Linked DNA regions of Homo sapiens: region 2 is linked to region 1. Evidence: promoter capture Hi-C in 16 types of primary human blood cells and fetal thymus (Javierre and others, 2016). All regions are on one chromosome and are shown on one strand. Each heading gives the region's core, a stretch centred on a gene start or on the middle of the fragment in contact. The rest is flanking DNA. Distances are from core to core; before and after follow the strand shown.

What was found. The method cuts DNA at HindIII sites, captures the fragments that hold promoters and counts their contacts. A CHiCAGO score of 5 or more calls a contact.
Region 2: a fragment that was not itself captured here is called in contact with the fragment with the promoter of RFNG in region 1 in 1 of 17 cell types (total CD8 T cells); the score reaches 5.0 in total CD8 T cells.

The regions. Positions count from the first base shown.
Region 1 is chr17:82,049,582-82,054,370 of GRCh38, reverse strand. It overlaps RFNG (RFNG O-fucosylpeptide 3-beta-N-acetylglucosaminyltransferase), which reads left to right and starts at 2,560. Exons shown (of 8, transcript NM_002917.2): 1 at 2,560-2,871; 2 at 3,029-3,077; 3 at 3,607-3,709; 4 at 3,816-3,969; 5 at 4,365-4,453; 6 at 4,529-4,694. The coding sequence starts at 2,605. GPS1 (G protein pathway suppressor 1) reads right to left here and starts at 2,473. Exons shown (of 13, transcript NM_001321092.3): 1 at 2,407-2,473; 2 at 1,005-1,097; 3 at 322-503. The coding sequence starts at 2,439. RefSeq lists silencers at 2,166-2,295, 2,356-2,605, 2,876-3,025 and an enhancer at 2,246-2,915. The HindIII fragment of the contact is 9,575 bases long and covers 1-4,244 here.
Region 2 is chr17:82,179,794-82,186,304 of GRCh38, reverse strand. It overlaps CCDC57 (coiled-coil domain containing 57), which reads left to right. Exons shown (of 19, transcript NM_001394669.1): 8 at 2,373-2,531. Among named protein-coding and RNA genes, the nearest start is that of CCDC57, 30 kb to the left of the region's middle. RefSeq lists enhancers at 4,690-5,656, 5,657-6,511. The HindIII fragment of the contact is 7,884 bases long and covers 102-6,511 here.

The DNA.
Region 1 (4,789 bases), core at 1,311-3,810:
CTAGGGACCAGTCTGCACCAGGGCCACAGAGAGAACTGCTGCCCCAGGAGCCTACAGCCGGGTGGGGAAACCAGCAGGGAGGCGGCCCCTGAGCCACAGTCTCCAACAGCTCCCCTTGGAATCAAAGCCCTGCATGCACACACACAGAAGCCACACACACACAGGGCACTTCCACTGCTGGCCAAAAGAGAGCGAGAGCTCTACCCGCCCGACTTCCCAGCACAGGGGTGGGAGATGCAGGGCACAGGAAGGGGGCCCAGTCCCAGACACCCGCGCTCCCTTGGTGGCCTCTGCTTCCTCTCGCCAAGCCCCTGGCCTCACCTGGTGGCCTCTGAGAGCTTGCGGTGGATCTCCTCGTACATGTCCACGTTAAAGGTTCTCTGCACGAAGGAGAGGGCCATCTTCAGGGCCTCCACCCGCAGCGTGGGGCAGTGATCAGCAATGAACTGCAGCCGTTCGATGCGCATCAGGCCGCTGTAGCTGGCCGCGTACTGTTCCAGATCCTGGGAGCAGGCACAGACAAGAGTCAGGCAGGATGGGAGGCAGGACCCTGGCCCCAGGCCCTGAGGGTCAGGAGTTGGGGCCTGACTGTCCTAGCCAGAATGTCGCCCTGGGCCCATAACCAGAACCGGGCATGGGGGTACGAGACTGACTGCTGTCCCAGGAGCTACGAAGACCGCTGGGGTGGGCCTGGCGCAGGAGCCTCAGGAGTGGGACCCTGCACCCGGGGGCTTTCGGGGATAGACACCCACTAGTGACTGCTGGTCGCTAGGCTGAGCGGGGAGGAGACCTGCCCTGGCTTCTCCATGAGCAGCATCTGAAGCTGAGCTACAAGCCTCATGTGAGTGCGCAATCAGAAACGCTGATGGTTTCGGGGTCAGAAAAAGACGACAGCGATCACTGAGGAGGATCATTCTACCTGCTGTGCAGGCTGCAGCGGGGAGTGTGCCCTGGACCCCTCAGCAGGACTGAGACACCCAAGGTCCCCCCACTGGGCTCCGTACCAGGCTGGGGTTCTCCACCACGTAGTTGACGTCAGGTGCATTCTGCGGGTCTTCCTGGGGGTCCACGTCGATCTGCATGGGCTCCACGGCCCCCTGCAACATGGGCCAGGCACCTGGCACCTCGTCCTGGGGACTGCCCCAGGAGGGCGAGAGACCCGCACTGTTCTCTGAGGTCAGCTCTGCCCAAGATCTTCCAGGCCAGTCGGACCACACTCCCGCCGCTGCTGTCCCCCAGGTGTGCCCTCCCAGTCACCCCCGCCCCCACCCAGGCTCCTGTGCCACCACATCAGGGAGGGGTCTCCTCACAAGACTCTAAGGCTCAGAAGCAGAAACCCCTCGCCTGATTCTAGCCGCTCATCTCTGAAAGCCAGAAAGCAGACAGGGGACAACCAACTACACAGGGGCCTCTGAGGGCCCCTACACGTTCCCAGCCACCATCCTGATGTAGTTTCCTCCAAGCCACGGAGAAGAACGGGACGCCACCTCAACCCCAGGAGGCAGGAGGACCAGCCCCCGGAATCTGTCCTGAGCAGCGGAGCAGCAATACTGGGCTGAGAGTCACGCCACGGAGTTGGGAGAAGGGGAAAAGAGTCATCTCAGGGAGCCTCATGGCCCCCAGCTGGGAGACACAGAGAAGCCAGGACCTCGGCTTAACACAAAGCAGGCTGGAAAAGCCGCCATGCCGGGCACTCGCCGGACCCGTGGGCCTCCCGCGCTCCTTCGGGAAAAGCACCAAGAGCTCGGCTCCCTCCGCAGGCCCCGGGCCCACCGGGGCTCCCTCCCCTCCTGCGCTTGGCACTGAGTCCCTGTCCTCGGCCAGCAGAGCAGCAGGGGCCCAGCCACAGCAGGGGCGGCCGGGGCCCTGCTCCCCCCTCCCTCGCTCGGGGGTCCCTGTCCTGGAAGGTACCTCGTAGAGCAGCGTACAGGCCGACAGGCTGGCGCTCAGGCTGAAGTCCCCGGCCGTGCCGGGCAGGACGAGGTCTGACCTACTGCTGTGAGGGGTGCAGTACAGATCTGTCACTGACGAGGAGGCCGAGCTGGGGGCCGAGCTATCCCTCATTCTGTCCTGACTTTCTGCACCCCCCGACCCTGACACAGAGCTGGCTGGCTGCTGAAGGGAGAAAGAGCGTTAGCGTCGGGGCGGCCGGGAACCTCTCCCGTGAGCTGCTGGGAGGGGAGGCGGGGCGGGCGCGGCCCGGCGGCCCCCGATCGCAGCGCGCAGCCACGGCGGAGACGCGCCCTCGGCCCTGCAGCCCCCGACGCGCGCTGCCCGCGGAGGCCCGGCACGGAGCGTGCCCGACCGACTCCTGGCGCAGGCCCCGCGCCCCTGCTCGACCTCAGCCCGGCCCCAGTGGCGGGGGGCGCGGGGGCGCGGAGGCCCGGGGCGGCCTCGGCTCGTTACCTGCAAGTTAAACACCTGAACCGGCAGCGGCATCTTGCACCCACCCCGCCGCGGCGTGCCGTCCACTTCCGGGGCAGCGAAGCCGTCGCTTCCGGGGCGCGGGGCGGGGCGGGGCCGCTGCGTTCTTAAAGGGGCCGCCGCCCACCCACGGCTCCGGCCAGGTTCTCCGCTCGCAGCGCCGGGGGTCCCGGCGGCCGCATGAGCCGCGCGCGTGGGGCGCTGTGCCGGGCCTGCCTCGCGCTGGCCGCGGCCCTGGCCGCGCTGCTGTTACTGCCGCTGCCGCTGCCCCGCGCGCCCGCCCCGGCCCGGACCCCCGCCCCGGCCCCGCGCGCGCCCCCGTCCCGGCCCGCTGCCCCCAGCCTGCGGCCTGACGACGTCTTCATCGCCGTCAAGACCACCCGGAAGAACCACGGGCCGCGCCTGCGGCTGCTGCTGCGCACCTGGATCTCCCGGGCCCGCCAGCAGGTGCGCCGGACCCCGACCCCGACGGCGAGCCCCACGCCCACCCGCCCCGCCTCCCAGGGTCTAGGCCCGGCCCAGGCCCCCGGAGGCTCCGCGCGGGGCGGGTCGGTCTCCGGCCTGGGCAGCGCCCCAGAAGCCTCATAGATTGTTTCTCCCCCAGACGTTTATCTTCACCGACGGGGACGACCCTGAGCTCGAGCTCCAGGGCGGTGAGTGTCCCCCACTCCCCGGCGCCCGCGGGATCTGCCCCCCGAGCCTTTCTCGCTCCGAAGCCACGGCCCCTTCGCTGCTGTGGGTGCCTTTCTCTGCCCAGGCTCCCGAGGCCCGGGGAGGCCCCGACGCTGCCCAGGTCACGCGGCCTGCGGAGGGCCCACCCTGCCAGCCAAGCTCTGCTCCCCACCAGCCTCTCACACTAGCCGCTTCCCGGGGCGTGGGGCTAGTGCCACGTCCCCTGAAGAAGCGCCAGCAGGGAATCCGCCCTTCCAGGCCAGGTCAGGGCGAGCTGCCTCCGTCCTGTTTCCACTCAAGAGATCCCAACCGATGGCCGCCTGCTTCAGCCTCGGTGGCACCAGCAGGGTCAGCGCGTGAGGGCTAGGGCTGTGGTTGGACCCAGGCAAGGTGTCCAGGCATGTCAGACAGCCACGTTGTGCCCTGGCCCTTGGGGGCAGGTGGGGCACAGGCCTTACCCCAACCCCAGTGCCATCCTCTACGTGCGTGCTTCCCGTCTCTGATTCGCAGGCGACCGTGTCATCAACACCAACTGCTCGGCGGTGCGCACTCGTCAGGCCCTCTGCTGCAAGATGTCCGTGGAGTATGACAAGTTCATTGAGTCCGGGCGCAAGTACGCGGCGCTGACCCGACCCGCAGAGAGCTCAGAGCCAAGCTGGGTGGGGGCCTCCTGTCCAGCCATGCCAGGCCCTCGTGCCCAGGACTCCCCTCGCCCACAGGTGGTTTTGCCACGTGGATGATGACAATTATGTGAACGCCAGGAGCCTCCTGCACCTGCTCTCCAGCTTCTCACCCAGCCAGGACGTCTACCTGGGGCGGCCCAGCCTGGACCACCCCATTGAGGCCACCGAGAGGGTCCAGGGTGGCAGAACTGTGAGTGTCGGAGCAGACGCCATCGGAGCAGACGCCTTCCTTGACACCAGCCCGGGAGGCACAGCAGAGGGCGTGGAAAGCTGGCTTGAGAAGGGCATAGGGTTGGGGGCCCAAGCTGATCCACCCAGGTGGTTTGCATGTGGTGTTTCAGGAGCAGGCCAGGAGGCCCTCACCGTACTGGGCAGAGAGGGGGTGTCTGGGCCAGGTGGGGAGGGTCTGGAGGCTACGGGTCAATGGCCTGCAGAAGCCCCCGGCTCTTTTTGCTCCAAGAAGCTTCTGTTACCTGGGTGGGATCTCCTAAGGGGCAGCTTAAGAAAGATGCCTGGGGAGTCCCATGAAGAGTCAGGGGTGAGAAGCCCTGTCCTGGGCAGCTCTGACCACCACCCCATCTTCAGGTGACCACGGTCAAGTTCTGGTTTGCTACTGGTGGGGCCGGGTTCTGCCTCAGCAGAGGCCTTGCCCTCAAGATGAGCCCATGGGCCAGGTGAGTGGGGGTCCAGCTGCCCGGGCTGGGAGGCGGAGGCTGAGACCTGAAAGGTGCTGACCGGCCTCCCCCCAGCCTGGGCAGCTTCATGAGCACAGCTGAGCAGGTGCGGCTGCCGGATGACTGCACAGTTGGCTACATCGTGGAGGGGCTCCTGGGCGCCCGCCTGCTGCACAGCCCCCTCTTCCACTCTCACCTGGAGAACCTGCAGAGGCTGCCGCCCGACACCCTGCTCCAGCAGGTACAGGCGCCACTCTGGGTGCCTCTGCCACCTGGGCTTTGCCCCGCCCTGACTCCCCCAGGGGCCCCACTGCCCCGGCCCGATGCCCGGCTGAG
Region 2 (6,511 bases), core at 2,794-5,293, 130 kb before region 1:
TCGTTTTCTGTCCGTAAATACTCTTTGCTCATTGAGAATTATTACTACACATATGCAGTATTATTTTGGTAGTAAGAAACAGACTTCTACATTCTAAAGCTTGTATCTTTCCTCTTTTACTTCTGGGGAGTTCAGCTATCATTCGGATCCCATGATCCCAAGTATGAGCTGGCATTAAATGATGACCTCGGCTAGGCACAGTGGCTCACACCTCTAATCCCAGCACTTTGGGAGGCTGAGGCAGGAGGATCACTTGAGCCTGGGCAACGAAACAAGACCCTATGTCTACCCAAAGAAAAGTTAGACAGGTACGGTGGTGCTCACCTATAGTCCTAGCTACTCAGGAGGCAGAGCAAGACTCTGTCTCTAAAAAAATAATTTTTTAACTAAAAAAATAGAAATAAGTGACAGCCATATTTATTTCAGTTCCTTTTTTTCTTTCTTAAAATGAAGTAGAGATGGGGTCTCCCCATGTTGCCCAGGATGGTCTCAAACTCCTGGACTTAAGTGATCCTCCCATCTCAGCCTCCCAAAGTGCTGGGATTATAGGCATGAGCCACCGTGCCTGGCCAGCTTTGTAGTTCTTAATAGGTTTTTCAGCAGTTTTGTGCTGGTTTGGAGTTTGGAACTACAGAGAAAACCTGTAGGATTAACAGGAAAGCATTTTTTTCTTCCTTTTTTTTTTTGTGACAAGGTCTCACTCTGTCACCCAGGCTGGAGTGCAGTGGCGTGATCTCGGTTCACTGCAGCCTACACCTCCTGGGCTCAGGTGATCCACCCCCCTCAGCCTCCCAGGTAGCTGGGACTACAGGTGCGTGCCACCACACCCGGCTAATTTTTGTATTTTGAGTAGAGACAGGGTTTAGTCATGTTGCCCAGGCTGGTTTCGAGCTCTGGGACCTCAAGCAGTCTGCCTGCCTCGGCCTCCCAAAGTGCTGGCATTACAGGCATGAGCCACCATGCCCAGCCTTCTTTTTTATTTTAACCATCCCATTACGCAGAAGAAAGAGAAGACTGGAAAGCAGCAGTGCGATCATGGCTCACTGGAGCCTCGACCTCCTGGGCTCAGGTGATCCTTCCACCTTGGCTTCTCACAAAAAGCATTTACGCTCTTGTGGTGAGCAGTGCACTCCCGCTCGTGGCCGTGGTGTCCTCTGTCCCTGCAGTGAGGGCTCAGCAGCCGTGCCCATTGATCTACACCTGAGACTGTGCATCAGGGGAGACTGTCCAGGAGGCCCCAGGCAGAGTCACATCACCATCCTGATGCTGGGAGTGGGGCTGGCCCTCATAATTAGGTGGCTCATGGTCCAGGGATAAAGCTGCTTCCCAGAGCACCAGAGGCCGTTGGTGAGTCTGTTTCTTCAGTACCCACGCAAAGCGTGGAAGGAGTCCAAACACACATTCTGTGTCAGCCCACATTGCCAGAGATGGCTGGAAACGTTGATGCCTTTGATGGTGTCTCTTTTCAGCTGTCCTAAAATATGTGTCCAAAACTGTTGGCAGGGTGGCTTTTTTTCCATTCTATATAATACCAGGCTTGAGTGCACCACTCATGCTAGGTTTAACCCCTCGTGACAAGGGGTGGCCTCTGTGGGGGCAGCCAGCTCACCCTCTGCTTCTCACTGTCAGTTGGAAGTTCATCAGCACAGGAGCATCTGAAGGTCTGTCGTGTGTGATGCTACAGTTGCTCTTGTGGGCCGTCTTCCCATCTCTTAGGGAAACAGGGCTACGCCCATGCAAGTGGGCAGGTATCATCTTGCCTAGGTTAGTACTGTGGCTACCTGAGTTAACAGCTCTAGATATTGTCCCGAACATTTTCTTGGGAAATTTATTCCATTTTGGGTAATTCTCCCAGAGGCATCCTGCTGTTAAGGTTATTTAGTGGGTTCTGTAGAACCTTATTTTACCATGCAACTTGAAAATGTGCTGAATGTCTCTGCACGTGGGGTGCTGTGCTAGGCATGGCGAGGACATGAGGGTGACTTGGTCAGAGGTGTTGCTACCTCATGACTGTGGGCTCTGTGGGCATGGGAGGCATGTCATGCCTCACCTTCCGCCCACCAAGAACCTGGCACATGGCCTGGTGTGCTGCAGGAGCTTAGCTGGAATCTGGGTTGGTGGGATGCATGCATGCATGGAGGTAGTTGGGTGGACGGATGCTTAATTCTTCCTGTGCGGAACCATCTTCATCATCTAGGCCAGGAAGTTTCAGCTCGAGAGCTGTGTGTGTGTGTGTGTGTGTGTGTGTGTGTGTGTGTGTGTGTGTGTGTGTGCGCGCGCGCGCGCGCATGTGTATTTGCTGGGGGGTGCTGTGTAAGAGACAACTTTAGTGAGTGAGAACCACATCTACATAGTTTCCCTTCTATGTTTAGACTTCGTGAAGATGCATCAACTGTAAAATCTGCCTGGGATGCTCAAATTGCTCAACTATCTAAGGAGATGGTCTCCAGAGACCTTCAGATTCAGACGCTGCAGGAAGAAGAGGTGAAGCTCAAGGCACAGGTGGCCCGATCCCAGCAGGACATTGAAAGGTAACTGTCCCCAGGCAGATGTTTCCATTGAGGGTCTCCTATGGGCAGGTGCTGTTGTAGGTACTAAGGATTCAAAACTGAACAGATTGAGTCCCTGGCCTCACATTTTCTTGGGGGAGAAAGACAGTGAACAAGACAGATAGAATGTCTGGTCACGCAGGGGTGGTGTGGGAAGACATGCAGAAGGGGCCGCCTGCTGGAGGGAGCATGGCCAGAGGATGGTGTTTCTCAGTCTGTAATAAGAGCCATAAAGGTGCTCCTGCTTGATTCTGCACTAAGAATCTCCTCTTGCCAAGCGTGGTGGCTCACACCTATAATCCCAGCACTTAGGGAGGCAGAAGCAGGAGGATTGCTGGAACCCAGGAGTTGGAGACCAGCCTGGTTAACATAGTGAGACCCCATCTCTGCAAAAAGGAAAACAAAAACAAAGAATCTCCTCGTCTGTCTTGTCTGATTGTTCATGTCCTCATGTGTTTCTTATCCGTTGGGGCGAACACTTCCTTGAACAAAGATAGCATTCTATTTCCCATACACATTCAAGTCAACTTTATTACAGAATACATATGCTAAACTCATCCATTTTAACTCTACACTTGATGAATTTTGATGAATGTGTATGCTGTATGATATCATTTGGCTCTATGTCCCCCCCCAAATCTAATCTCAAATTGTAATCCCCATGTGTCAAGGGAGGACCCTGATGGGAGGTGATTGGCTCATGGGGGCGGTTTCCCCGATGCTGTGCTTATGATAGTAAGTGAGTTCTGATGGTTTAAAAGTGTTTGGTGGGCCGGGTGTGATGGCTCACGCCTGTCATCCCAGCACTTTGGGAGGCCAAGGCTGTCAGATCACTTGAGGTCAGGAGTTCGAGACCAGCCTGGCCAACATGGTAAAACCCCGTCTCTACTAAAAATACAAAAATTAGCCAGGCATGGTGGCTCACGCCTGTAGTCCCAGATACTCCAGAGGCTGAGGTGGGAGAATCACTTGAACCCAGGAGGCGGAGGTTTTGGTGAGCCCAGATCGTGCCACTGCATTCCAGCCTGGGCAGCAGAGTGAGATTCTGTCTCAAAAAAATGAATAAACAAATAAAAAATAAAATATAAATAAATGTTTGGTGGGCCGGGCGCGGTGGCTCACATCTATAATCCCAGCACTTTGGGAGGCCAAGGCTGGCAGATCACCTGAGGTCAGGAGTTTGAGACCAGCCTGGACAACATGGTAAAACCCCATCTCTACTAAAAATACAAAAATTATCCCGGTGTGGTGTCACACGCCTGTAATCCCAGCTACTCGGGGGGCTGAGGCAGGAGAATCACTTGAACCCAGGAGGCGGAGGCTGCAGTGAGCCGAGATGGTGCTACTGCACTTCAGCCTGGGCAACAGAGCGAGACTGGGTCTCAAAAAAAAAAAAAGGAAAAGTACCAATGCTGAAAGAAACATGTTGTAATAACGTTCTTAGCTCTTCCTTCCAGCATTCTTTTTTTTTTTTGTTAAATACTTCCATTGACTGAAATAAAACATCATGTATCTTCAAGAAAGCACATTTAGATTTACCTATTACTTGTGTATGTAGAAAACCCTCATAATATGAACTAATGCAGAAGAAAAAAAACATGCTGTGATAATGTTCTCAACTTTTTTTCTTTTTTTTTTGAGATGGAGTCTCACTCTGTCACCCAGGCTGGAGTGCAGTGGCGCAATCTCAGCTCACTACAACCTCCACCTCCTGGGTACAAGCAGTTCTCCTGTGTCAGCCTCTAGAGTAGCTGGGATTACAGGCATGCGCCACCACGCCTGGCTAATTTTTGTATTTTTAGTAGAGACAGGGTTTCACCATGTTGGCCAGGCTGGTCTTGAACTCCTGACTTCAGGTGATCCACCTGCCTTGGCCTCCCAAAGTGCTGGGATGACAGGCGTGAGCCACCCCGCCTGGCTTATGTTCTCAACTCTTGATTCCAATGTTCCTTCTTCGTTAAACTCTTCCATTCACTGAAAGAAAACAGCACATATTACAATATTTAGACTTTTTTATACATTTAATTTCTCTCCTCATTATGTGCACGGTTGCCTTTAAATCTCTGAACTTATTTGTAATAGCTGCTTAAATGTATTTATCTGCTAATTCCATCATATCTTTATTTCTGAGTCTGTTTCTATGGGCTGATTTTTCTACTGGAGAGAGCTACATTTTTTTCTACTTCCTTGCCCATCTGGTAAGTTTTCACTGGATGTCAGACATGGTGAATATGATGTTGGCGAGCATCTGGTTTTGGCTGTGCTGTTTTTTGTTTGGCTGCAGTTAAGTATTTACATGGCAGCTTGACCCATTTGAGACTTGTTTAAAATCAGTGCGAGGGCAGGTGGGGCAGGTCTAGAGAAGCCTTTTCACCAGGGCTGACTCAGCACTATGACTCCCAGACCCCACTGCGTGCCCTGGAGCGAGAGCTCCAAGGATGCTCCGCCGGCCGCCCTGACGAGCTCTGGGAATCAGCGCACGTGGAGCCCCGTGCTGGCTGCTTCGTTCCCACGAGTTGCTCTTGGCCCAGCCGGTGTTGGCTTCTCCTGTGTATTTGCATGTGGCTGTCAGCCACAGCTTCTAGGGGATCCCTGCACAGATCCCAGGTTCCCCTCCTCTCTGCCCCTCTGCCTCATAAAGCCCATTTCAGCCACTTCAGCTTCTCCAAACTCCAACCTTCATCTCCTCGTCACAGCAAGACCACCGTGCTCTGCGTGGTTTGCCGTCCCTGCGGGGATCCGGAATGGCCTGTGGAGAGAAGCCGGGCGGCGAGTGGGCCCATCTCGCGAGGACCTTCTCTGAGGGGCCTCAGCCCCGCACCGCTCGTGTGTTCATCGTTCGCTCTGTGAAAGCCGTGCCCCATTTACTGCCCAGTGTCCCAGTTGTTTAAAGTGGGAAGATAGGCATGGTGACAGCTGCTGTGTTGTGTTAAAGATTTATTTATTTTTGCAGTTACAGGGATTTAAAAATGTATCTGTGGGGCTGGGCCCAGTGGCTCACGCCTGTAATCCCAGCACTTTGGGAGGCCGAGGCGGGCGGATCACGAGGTCAGGAGATCGAGACGATCCTGGCTAACACGGTGAAACCCCGTCTCTACTAAAAATACAAAAAATTAGCTAGGCGTGGTGGTATGCACCTGTAGTCCCAGCTACTCAAGAGGCTGAGGCAGGAGGACCACTTGAGCCCAGGAGGTGGAGGCTGTACTAAGCCAACATCACGCCACTGCACTCCAGCCTGGGTGACAGAGCAAGACTCTGTATCCAAAAAAAACCTAAAAATAATTAAACAAAACAAGAACACATTGTGTATAAATTACCACAAACTTAGCAGCTTAGCTGCTTTAAACACCCATTTATTATCTCAGGTTCTGGGGCCAGGGCCTGGGCAGGGCTCAGCCATTCCCGGCTCAGGGTCTCTCCAGGCTGGAATCAATGATGGCCAGGCCTGCCTCTCCTTGGAGGCCCAGGGTCCCTTCCAGACTCACCCAGCTGTTGGCAGAATTCAGTCCCTCCAGCTGTGGGGCCAAGGCCTCCATTCCCTCACTGTCTGACAGCCAGGGTCACTCTGCACCCTAGCGGCGTCCTCAGTCCTGGCCACGCAGCCCCTCCAGGGACCCTCTCACAACACGGTGGCTCAATTGCTATCATTCGAACTCCCTGAAGTTTACCGGTGCAATGAGGCCAGCAGGAGAGTCTCCCTCCAGTCTCACGCAGAGCCATGCCACCATCTCTGTGTCGCTGCCTGGGACAGGAGGGACCTCTCCCCCGTCACAGGATCACCCACAGCCTGGAATTCTGCCCCCAGTGTGTGGCCCCATGGCCTTCTGTCCCAGAGTTGCTGGTGTAAAGCCTAGTCCTAGTCCAATTCTTGTTCTTTTTTCCTTGTAGACTCTTCTTTCGTCCTTCATACTATAACGTTTCCCCTTACTGTGTGCGTGTGGGATCTCTAGAGCTCTCTGAAG